Linked DNA regions of Homo sapiens: region 1 is linked to region 2. The links are contacts of gene promoters, found by promoter capture Hi-C in blood cells and fetal thymus (Javierre and others, 2016). All regions are on one chromosome and are shown on one strand. The core of a region is centred on a gene start or on the middle of the fragment in contact, and the rest is flanking DNA. Distances in the headings are between cores, read along the strand shown.

What was found. Contacts are between HindIII fragments. The CHiCAGO score rates a contact against its expected background, and 5 or more counts as called.
Region 1: a contact is called between the fragment with the promoter of ZC3H13 here and the fragment with the promoter of DNAJC15 in region 2, in 1 of 17 cell types (naive CD8 T cells). The highest score is 6.6, in naive CD8 T cells.

The regions. Positions count from the first base shown.
Region 1 is chr13:46,051,468-46,057,161 of GRCh38, reverse strand. It overlaps ZC3H13 (zinc finger CCCH-type containing 13), which reads left to right and starts at 4,416. Exons shown (of 19, transcript NM_001330564.2): 1 at 4,416-4,758. CPB2 (carboxypeptidase B2) reads left to right here. Exons shown (of 11, transcript NM_001872.5): 10 at 1,313-1,400; 11 at 3,364-3,976. The coding sequence ends at 3,548. CPB2-AS1 (CPB2 antisense RNA 1) reads right to left here and starts at 4,314. Exons shown (of 3, transcript NR_046227.1): 1 at 4,197-4,314. RefSeq lists enhancers at 4,251-4,450, 4,461-4,630, 4,160-4,695, 4,696-5,232. The HindIII fragment of the contact is 2,282 bases long and covers 3,501-5,694 here.
Region 2 is chr13:43,020,586-43,025,966 of GRCh38, reverse strand. It overlaps DNAJC15 (DnaJ heat shock protein family (Hsp40) member C15), which reads right to left and starts at 2,381. Exons shown (of 6, transcript NM_013238.3): 1 at 2,233-2,381. The coding sequence starts at 2,340. RefSeq lists enhancers at 1,883-1,932, 2,443-2,492, 2,503-2,562. The HindIII fragment of the contact is 4,162 bases long and covers 1-3,191 here.

The DNA.
Region 1 (5,694 bases), core at 3,167-5,666, 3.0 Mb before region 2:
TTTTTTTTGCATCACTGCCAGCACACATATATGTTGAGAGCCATTACGTGTAAAATACCTTGTCAATGGATGTTTAAAGAAGCATTAGGTAAAATCCTGCCCTTTAAGAGAATGTGTTATGGTTAGGGAGCTCAACCATTAGCAAATGTTACAAATAGTTGTACTCTAAGGCGACATAGAGTAACTACTAAATACGTGGCACAGACAGTACAACTCACTTCTAACTAGAATATCAAGGGATGGCTTCACTAATGCATTCAGAGGGAAATGCTGAGATAAGTGAGGAGATAAAGTAGTTACTGTCCTTGAGGAATTTACAATCTATTAAGGGGGGGAAAAACTACAAATAATAAAGTGCTGTTGATGTCAAAGATCAGCTACATTTTAGACAGGCATTGAAAGAGGATTTCTATAGGCAGACAGGGAAGGAAGGACCTTCCAAGCAAAGAAGTTGGTGTTCACCATAAGAGGATGCAAAAGTGGAGGGTGATAGCATCAGAAAGTAGATTAGGTTGGCTTCTGAAGGGGTGTGACTGTCAGATAAATTTGTATTTCATTATGTAGACAATGGGGTTACATTAAAACTTATTTTTTGAACAATGAGATGGCATAAAATAATATCCGCTGATAAATCTCTTGAGTTTTTCAAGAAGGTGACAGTGTATACCATGATGCTAGTTCCAATTTCCGAAAAGTTCCAGATAAGTGAGAACTTCAGAATAGATTTGACAAAATGAATATCAACAGACAAAATGAAGTCAAATGGGGGTCTTAGTTATTATCCTGCTCCATACCAGAGGCATAATCTTTTTTGATTTGATGAATCTATGGAAGTCATTAGACATTTTACACAAGAAGAAAATAGAAGTTGTGAGAAGGATAAGAAGTGAGTCATGCATGCATTAGGTGTTTGTATGTGTTTAGAAAGGTTGGATTTAAAGTTTGGTGATAATTTTGTTCAGAAATGGAGTACCTCTAAGCCTTTGAGATGTAGTTATACTTCATTTTCCATAATAAATGAGTTCCCAAAAAGGCATGTGATAATTTTTTTCTGCAAATTAATATATTTATTTATATAAATTATTTCAATATATTGAAATAGTTTATGTTTAAAGCCACCCAATTGTGATTGCCATAAAGTGCACATATTTTAAATTAATTTGTTTACCTTATTTATTTGCCTTTTAGATGAATCTAGATTTTCTACCTGTATACTTTGATTCAATTAATGTATGATTATTTTTTAGAAACTTCTACTTGTCATGTTTCAAAGCTGCACATTAACTGAAATTCTATATCTTGTTGCTTCCAGTCTCTAGTAGCCAGTGAAGCAGTTCGTGCTATTGAGAAAATTAGTAAAAATACCAGGTATACACATGGCCATGGCTCAGAAACCTTATGTAAGTATTTCTTCTTATGATCTTAGAGAACTTTGAGCTACTAAAGAAATCTGTGTGATCTGTTTTTCTTTGTGTATTTAATTTTTCTGAATTAAATAGGGTCACATGTAATACAACTGAATTGTAATAATTAGGAACAGAAGCATAATAGCTATGACAATGCTGAACAAAGCTATATTAATAAATGAGTTACTAAAAAGAAGCCAAAATCCTATTTAAGAAATCATATTTATCACAATCAAGTAGGAATTACAGAATTGGCATCATACTAGTTGAGTGAAGCAGAAAAGTTCATAAAACTTTTGCATGATTCCCAGGGCCACCATGGAAGGTTGTGCAGGTTGTACACTACACTAATCTAGGGCATGCCATTTGCATCAAGTGTTTTTTAGTGTTAGCCTGTTCCCAAGAGTATAGCTCATAACACATTACAGTTGATTGTCTTTAATATATATTACACACACAAAACTTGTGACAAACTCTTAACAAAAAGTTTTGATTAATTTTTGCTGAAAGATATTTAGTGAGTAACTCCTATCTACACACAGTGGGAGGACAGACTGATTTTGCCCTTTTGAAGTTTGAAGGGAGATGGGAAAAGAGGAGCATAAAATAAACCTGTAACCAGGCATCAGAAAACTACAGCCTGAAGGCCAAATCCAGGTTTTTCCTTTTTTTTTTTTTTTTAATGATTAGAAAAAAACAAAAAGAGGCCAGGTGCTGTGGCTCATGCCTGTAATACCAGCACTTTGGGAGGCTGAGGCAGGAGGATCACTTGAGGTCAGGAGTTCGAGACCAGACTGGCCAACATGGTGAAACCCTGTCTCTACTAAAAATACAAAAATTAGCTGGGCATGGTGGCAGGCGCCTGTAATGCCAGCTACTTGGTTGGCTAATGCATAAGAATTACTTGAACCTGGGAGGTGGGGGTGGCAATGAGCTGAGATTGTGCAACTGCACTCTAGCCTGGGTGACAGAGTGAGACTCCATCTCAAAAAAGGTCGAAACTGTATTTATCATGAACACTAAAATATGTACACATTTTAGTTAACATGCATTAAACTGTAACAAGTCTTCTGGCAATTGTAGCTTTCATGAGATGCTTCCCAAACTGTATTAGATAGATGCTAAAATTATAAATTAAAATTTTGGGTCAGACTTTGCCATAAACCTGGACTCAATTTAGCACCCCCCCAAAAAAAGTCAGATTATTCAATTAATGCGGTTGGAAAACCTAACAAGTTACCTAGAAAAAAATTAATTGGATTATTAACATGTCTTTCACCAAAGTAAATTCCAGGTACAGCATATATTTTCATATGAAAACCCTGCATAAACCAAGTTGAAATCTCAGTAAGGAGAAAAAATTCTTGTGAAAGGAGAAATGAATGAAAGGAGAAAAAAAGGTCTACATGCCAAACAAAGCTAATAACACTAATGTCGTTTTTATAAGCAATTGATAAAATGAACCAAGTAGACAAATGAGGAAGGACAATTGATAGGAAATATAAAGATAGCCAATAAATATGCCAAACAAATGTGCAACTCACTGATAATCAAAAAACATAAATTAAGACAGTTGGATATTATTTTTCGCCCATAAAATTATCAGAATTCATAATTCCTATTGATGGTATGGGAAGGGGAAATGGGCAAATTCATACCCTGCTTGTGGAAGTATAAATGAATTCAGTTCTTTTGACGTCCATTTGGGAACATGCCGTAATTGCAAAAAGTACAGAGCCTTAGACTAGCAAATCTATTCTAGGGAAGAATATTCTAAAGAGACAAAGAAGCAATTATGTATAAACAAGGGTACTCATTGTAAAGTTGTTTATATTAGTTAAAAACTGAAAAAAATCTAAAGGTATACAAACAAATAAACATTTAAATCAAACAATTCCCAGTTTGTAAATTAATTTGAAACGTCTGTATTTCAACAATTTCTTTCTTCTTCTTTTAGACCTAGCTCCTGGAGGTGGGGACGATTGGATCTATGATTTGGGCATCAAATATTCGTTTACAATTGAACTTCGAGATACGGGCACATACGGATTCTTGCTGCCGGAGCGTTACATCAAACCCACCTGTAGAGAAGCTTTTGCCGCTGTCTCTAAAATAGCTTGGCATGTCATTAGGAATGTTTAATGCCCCTGATTTTATCATTCTGCTTCCGTATTTTAATTTACTGATTCCAGCAAGACCAAATCATTGTATCAAATTATTTTTAAGTTTTATCCGTAGTTTTGATAAAAGATTTTCCTATTCCTTGGTTCTGTCAGAGAACCTAATAAGTGCTACTTTGCCATTAAGGCAGACTAGGGTTCATGTCTTTTTACCCTTTAAAAAAAATTGTAAAAGTCTAGTTACCTACTTTTTCTTTGATTTTCGACGTTTGACTAGCCATCTCAAGCAAGTTTCGACGTTTGACTAGCCATCTCAAGCAAGTTTAATCAATGATCATCTCACGCTGATCATTGGATCCTACTCAACAAAAGGAAGGGTGGTCAGAAGTACATTAAAGATTTCTGCTCCAAATTTTCAATAAATTTCTGCTTGTGCCTTTAGAAATACAACCATGCATTCCGTTTGCTCCACGGTAATTAGGCGATGGCCCAGAAAGGGGAGGGGTGTCAAAAACGACAAACATAGCCTCTCATTCCAGCTCAGCTGCTCAATAAACACTGTTGAACGAATGAATGAGTGGCTCTAGGTACTGTCAACAAATGCCGCATTTTGCGCATTTACAACAGCTGTTTATGGTAAGGAATTATGTAATAAAAAGAGAAAACTCACTTAAATTCACTTTTAATTGGGAATTTTAGTTCTCCCGGGCTCCCAGTTTCCTTTCCTAGGATCTCTCACAGAGCACAGATTCGATTTCCAAGTCCCGCCGCACTCTTACCGCTCGCATGGAACCTTACGCCTAGAGGGCGTGTCCACGAAGGGTGGTGTCTGCGCACTGACGACTAATCTGACGGCCGGAAGCTGCCTGGGTCTACAGAGGAACAGGGCAAACCTCTGACTTCCGGCGGCATTTTGAGGCGGTCCTCCTAGCGGCCTGGTAGTGTTTTTGTTGCCTTTTCTTAATCTACAATCTCTTCGTTATTTTTCTTCCTGCGACCCAGTTTCGCTTGACCCTGGAGAGGCGGCGGGCGGGTTGGTTCTGCTTCTCAGCCATCCCGGGGGCTCCTCGCTAGCCAAGAGCCGGTTCCCGGGAGCCGCGCGCGCATCGCTTTCTCCTCGTCGTCGTCCTCCTGGGTCCAGGCGCGGGGACAGAGTCGCCTCCCCCGCTCCTCGGAGCGGCGGCGGCGGTGGTGCCTCCGGACTGCACTTGCGAAGGGAGCTTGGGGAGGAAGTAAGCGTTCTGTGAATTGGTGTGGGTATCTGGGGAAGGCATTGAGCGGACCCGTAATGCGGAGGCCCGGGTTACCCCCCCCCGTCTTTGCTTGAGTCACTGGGATTTTGAGCTTTCCTTGAGCATCCCACCCTTAACTCTGCAATAGCCCCCTGTGCTCAGGCGTAATTTCTCACTCTGATTATGATTCTGGCATTTGTCTAAGGGCGATAAGTAGACTCAGACAATAGGCTGTACCCCTCGTTACCATTTGATGTAAGCACGGGAACCCTTGTATGGTGTTCGTATTTGTGTGCGATGGAAGGGTGCAGCAATTTGGGCTTAAATTTAGAATCTTCCTCTATACTCATTCCAGATCTGTTAGAGAAAAACATCTTACTTGTGATTGGTCTTGTTTTTTTTTTTTTCCCTCAGCAGTGATAACGATTTAGGTCCTGGGAATTGAGTGCTACTTTATCTTCACAAGCCTTAGGTAGGTAGTTTTGGCAACTGTCAGAAACGGGGGAAAGTGGAATAGAAAGAAGAGAGTCTGTTTGGCGGCATTATCTCTCTGTAATAGGCTAACGCAATTTATGTGGTTTGAAAATTATTTAGAGTTGATAATACTTGAATTATGTTGGTAAGATGTTGTTTGTGAAGGGTAGTCTTAAGGTATTTGGTTATACTATGGGGCTTTCAGGTAATTCGAACTACTTTGAAAATTATGGGAGTATGAAGTCTCTTAAGATTTTTGGATTTTTAAAGTAGTTTTAAAAATTTGGAAAACATCTTTACACCTCAAGTTTTCGAAGTCCGCGATACCGTTGGAGAATAAATACTTATGCAGTTCAGTCTATGGGTATATGGTGCCAGTTAGCGGGGTCTAGTTCTGTAACATTTGAAATTACTGGCTTTAGTACAATATATTGGAGCGTTTTGTGAATACAATCTATAGAT
Region 2 (5,381 bases), core at 1,132-3,631:
GTAATGTCTAAGTATTTACATATTTAAATTGTAGACATGTTAACATGTTATTTTCTTTTTTTTGAGACAAAGTCTCGCTCTGTCGCCCAGGCTGGAGTGCAGTGGCATGATCTCCGCTCACTGCAACCTCTGCCCCCTGGGTTCAAGCAATTCTTCTGCCTCAGCCTCCCTACTAGCTGGAATTACAGACTTGTGCTACCATGCCCAGCTAATTTTTGTATTTTTAGTAGAGACACGGTTTTGCCCTGTTGGCCAGGCTGGTCTCGAACCCCTGACTCAAGTGATCCACCCACCTCAGCCTCCCAAATTGCTGGGATTATAGGAGCGAGACACCGCTCGCAGCCTGTAGACATGTTATTGTCTAATAAAATATTTCACCTTTATGTCTCAATTAAAGCATTATATTGATTATTAAAAGTTATGTTTACAGGTAGATTTTATTGTCTATGAATCTGACTTCAGGATTTCAGGATATTACAGGACACAGACAGTTTGAGAATCACTGGCCTACACTTTAGCCTTCAAGTACCTGGACTACTAAAGATGCTTCCTATGTGGTACTCTGGATTCTGTAAACTCTCTCCTCTTCCAAGTAAAAATACCTACACATGTAAAAGTCACCAATATTAGTTCTATCTTCCAATTACCACAGCTCCCAACTACCTTGAAAGCCTGATACTCGGATTTTTACGACTCTCCACAAAAGGATTACTTCTGCCTGATCTTGTTCAGCTGTATCATACACTGAATACTATATCCAGAAATCCTTATTTCTAAGGAGTCAGCAAGTCATAAGGGAAAAAGTGTAGCATTTGGAATCGTAGATCTGCCACTTACCAGGGATGATCCTGGACCAGTTACTTAAAACTTTCTAAATCTCTACTGCCTCATTTTTTTTTCTTTGTTGGAGACAGGGTCTAGCTCTGTCTCTCAGGCTGGAGTGCAGTGGCGAAATCATAGCTCACTATAACCTCAACTCCTGGGCTCAAGTGATTCTCCCGACCCAGCCTCCCAAGCAGCTAGGACTACAGGCTCACACCACCACACCCAGCTAATTTTTTTTTTTTTTTTTTAGCAGAGATGGGGTCTCCTGTGTTGCCCAGGCTGTCCTCCAAACTCATGGCCTCAAGTGATCCTCCTGCCTGGGCTTCCTAAAGCGCTGGGATTACAAGCCTAAACCACCACTTGGGCAATATTTCATATTGAATGTTGAAAATTACCATGCAACTGTGCATATATCAGGTTAAAGAAAATACATGGTTAAAATCAAACCCACCTGTTTCTCTTCAGTTGTTTAATATGGCTACAAAAAACTTAAAAATATGCCGGACGCGGTGGCTCACGCCTGTAATCCCAGCACTTTGGGAGGCCGAGGCGGGCGGATCACGAGGTAAGCAGATCGAGACCATCCTGGCTAACACGGTGAAACCCCCGTCTCTACTAAAAATACAAAAAATTAGCCGGGAGTGGTGGCAGGCGCCTGTAGTCCCAGCTACTTGGGAGGCTGAGGCAGGAGAATGGCCTGAAACCGGGAGGCGGAGCTTGCAGTGAGCCGAGATCGCGCCACTGCACTCCAGCCTGGGCGACAGAGCGAGACTCCGTCTCAAAAAAAAAAAAAAAAAAAAAAAACGTAAAAATACGTATGTGGCTCACAATATGCTTCTGTTGGACAGTTTTCTGTTAGACCCTTCCTTTTTCCAGCTCTACAGTTCATCCTGAATACACCACTTGGAGTTTCCAACTGGGCCCTGTTTCTGTGCCGGAGACTTTGGAGACAGTAGTCCTGGTACCCGAAACACTTTTTCCCCTTCTCCTTGCTGAATGGACTGTTTTTATTCATTCAGATCTTAATTTTTAACTACAGCTTTCTCCAAGAAGCGTCCCTGATCCCACCACGTCCCCTGCAAGACGTTTTTAGGGCCTCCTATGAGATAGGAAAATCCACATACAGCACTTATTTTACTGTATTTGCAATTGCCTGTTTTCTGGTTTGTGTCCCAGACAAGACTGGAAGCTCCTTGAGGAGACAGATCCTCAGAACTGCTCCGTCTTCCACGCCCAGGCGTCAAAGCCCAGCACAAAGCGGTCTCTCCACTGAACAAGTGAGCGCTAGGGCACAGACCGTGAGCGAATGCGGGGGAGTACAAAGGTTCAAGGGTGAGGCGGTAGAGGGGGCTGAAGCAGAAACTACAAGGGAGCCAGAGAGGGGTGGGGGCCGCTGGCAGGACTCACCAGTCTCTGCTGGTCGACGTCGGCGTCTGGCCGTTTGGCCGAGGGCTGCAAGTACTCAGCGTAGCGCAAACTCTCGCCAACTGGAGCGATGACACCACGGGCAGCCATGGCAAGGCGGCCCGGAGACTCAAGGCGCCGCGGCAGTGACTACGAGGCGGCCGTAGGGACAAACTAGTTAGCGCGGTTTCTTCTCGCAGATCCAGTGGACTCTGCGCTCGTTGTGCTATTAAAGGCGAGGTTCCCGGAAGATACCCTTCTCACCCGAGCTGGGTAACGTGTCCCGTGCAAGCACGGGGTCACACTCCGAAAGGAGCCAAGGGCACTGGGACGTTCTTGAATCACACTCACAGGCGCAAAGCCAACGCGGACCCTCAGGGAGCTTTATATACTTGGGCCTGGTCCCTCCCCAGGCCGCCGTAAGGGACTGGGCTTAAGCCCTGCGAACTGATGTTGGTCGAATCAGATGACTGCCCAGTAAGCTCGGAGTCTAGCTGTAGTGCCTGAGGGTGGGCTTGCCTGAGCTTTCCTGACCCCCTTCCGGGCAGCCTTTCTTCCCACTCTCAACTTCTGTTCGCACTTCTGTTTAATGCCACAGTTCTACCACCCCGGGAGAGAAATTAAAGAGGCAATTTGCTTACTCCACCCCCAAGTAAATGGCTGTATTTAAGGTGAAATTACACAGAAGAAAGTTGTGGCCGGGTGCGGTGGCTCACGCTGTAATCCCAGCACTTTGGGAGACCGAGGCGGGTGGATCACACCAGCTTGGCCGACATGGTGAAACCTCGTCTCTACTAAAAATACAAAGATTAGCTGGGTGTGGTGGTGCGTCCCTGTAATCCCAGCTACTCAGGAGCCTGAGGCAGGGGAAAAAAAGTTGTGAGCAAGTAGGTAAATCTTACTCTCCCTCAAATGAGTTTGTGCTGATTTGTATATATAAAAGCCCATTTTATTATTAAGCTTTTTTTTTTTTTTGAGATGGAGTCTCGCTCTGTTGCCCAGGCTGAGTGCAGTGGCGCAATCTCTGGCTCACTGCACCCTCTGCCTCCCGAGTACCTGGGATTAAAGGCACGTGCCACCACACCTGGCTAATTTGTGTATTTTTAGTAGAGACGAGGTTTCACCATGTTGGCCAGGCTGGTCTCAAACTCCTGACCTCAGGTGATCCGCCCGCTTCAGCCTCCCAAAGTGCTGAGATTACAGGCGTGAGTCACCGCGCCTGGCCTCCATCAAGTTTTTAGAGCAAAAATTAACCAGCAGTTGAAGCGTATGGTGTTTTCCAACTTCTGTACCAACGTGGCAGCTCTTTGGCTCCTTATACCCTTTGCAAAATCAGCTGACAGGAAGAAAAAGCTTTATTTTTTTTCTATTCCTGAATTTAAAGTTTTGAGGGTCTATTAATTTGTTCACTTAGTTAATATTATTAGCATGTCTAAGAAGTTAGGTCCTAGAAATTTACAATCTTGTAGGGAAGATAACACTGACACAGAATAATAGTACATACCAGAACATGAGCACATGCATTGCATAGCAGTATAAAGAGAACTGGACTGGGAATTAAACCGCCATTGCAAAATTACAACTGAGAAAGAGATCTGACCTAATCAACACCATCTTGCTTCTAACCTCCAAGCTGTCTTGTACATTCCTGGCCGTAGGCCAAACTAACTTTGGGAGGAATGTAATTCATAGTTTATAGTTTGAAACAAAGATGATAAAAGCCCTTTCCCAAAACAAACCTCCTTCTTGCCTGGGGACTAGACTGCCTTTGTAGGACTAACAAATTAGCCACAAGATCAGAAATTATGACTTAGGAGTCATGCAGCTGGAGGCTACAAGATTCTGACCCTCCCCAAATTGCTGCTGGAGCTAACATCACTATTGTAAAAACTACCACCAGTGCTTGAGATATTTTGCAGACCCCGCACTTGATGAATCAGCTGGCATCACCCAGATCGATAAACTGGCTCATCTGATCTCGTGGCCCCCACCCAGGAACTGATAACGCAAGACAACTTGGACTCCCTGTGATTTCATCTTTGACCTGACCAATCAGCACTCCCAGCTCACTGGCTTCCCCCTACTCACCGAGTTGTCCTTAAAAATTCTGATCCCCAGCTGGGCGCGGTGGCTCATGCCTGTAATCCCAGCACTTTGGGAGGCCGAAGGTGGGTGCATCATGAGGTCAAGAGAGTGAGACCATCCTGGCCAACATGGTGAAATCCCATCTCTACTAAAAATACAAAAATTAGCTGGGCGTGGTGGGTGCCTGTAGTCCCAGCTACTCGGGAGGCTGAGGCAGGAGAATCGCTTGAACCTGGGAGGCAGAGGTTGCAGTGAGCAGAGATCGCGCCACTGCACTCCAGCCTGAGGACAGAGTGAGACTCCGTCTCAAAAAAATAATAATAATAAATAAATAAATAAAAAATTCTGATCCCTGAATGCTCTGGGAGACTGATTTGAGTAATAATGAAACTCCAGTCTCCTGCACAGTCAGCTCTGCATGAATTACTCTTTCTCTATTGCAATTACCCCGTCTTTATAAATTTGGCTCTGTCTAGACAGCCAGCAAAGTAAACCCATTGGGTGGTTACAGGAATAAGGAAGACATCTGAGTTCTAGTGTACCTCCATTATTTTCTGGGCTTGTATAACTGAACATATCCATTAACCTCTCCAAATTACCTGTAAAAGGAGAATAACATTTGTCCAACATTCTGACTCAGGGAAGTTGTGCAAACAAATATAAACCTCAAAGAACCAATCCTTCAAGATGGATCCCAAGTGGCTAACTAGGACTAACTTAAAATAGAGCCAAACCTTCCTTTTACACTGAAATCTGTGGCTCTCAGGTTTGCAAACTGTTTATTGGGATAGTCTCTCTCCTCTAAATTCCTTTTCAGAGAACTTTTCATTTACATAGGGATAAAAAAGAAAACGACAGGATATGGAAGCAACTTGTATAATGCACTTATGAAAAGAATTACAACCATAGTGCTCTTGGACTTTACAGGAGGGAATGGCCACTTTTAACAGGGGTCATCAGAGAGGTTTAGTGAAGGCTTAGCCATTGAGATGAGGTAAAGAATGGGTAACATTTCTTTAGATGGAAGAGAGGAAATGCCAGAAATTTCAACTGGAAACAAATGGAAG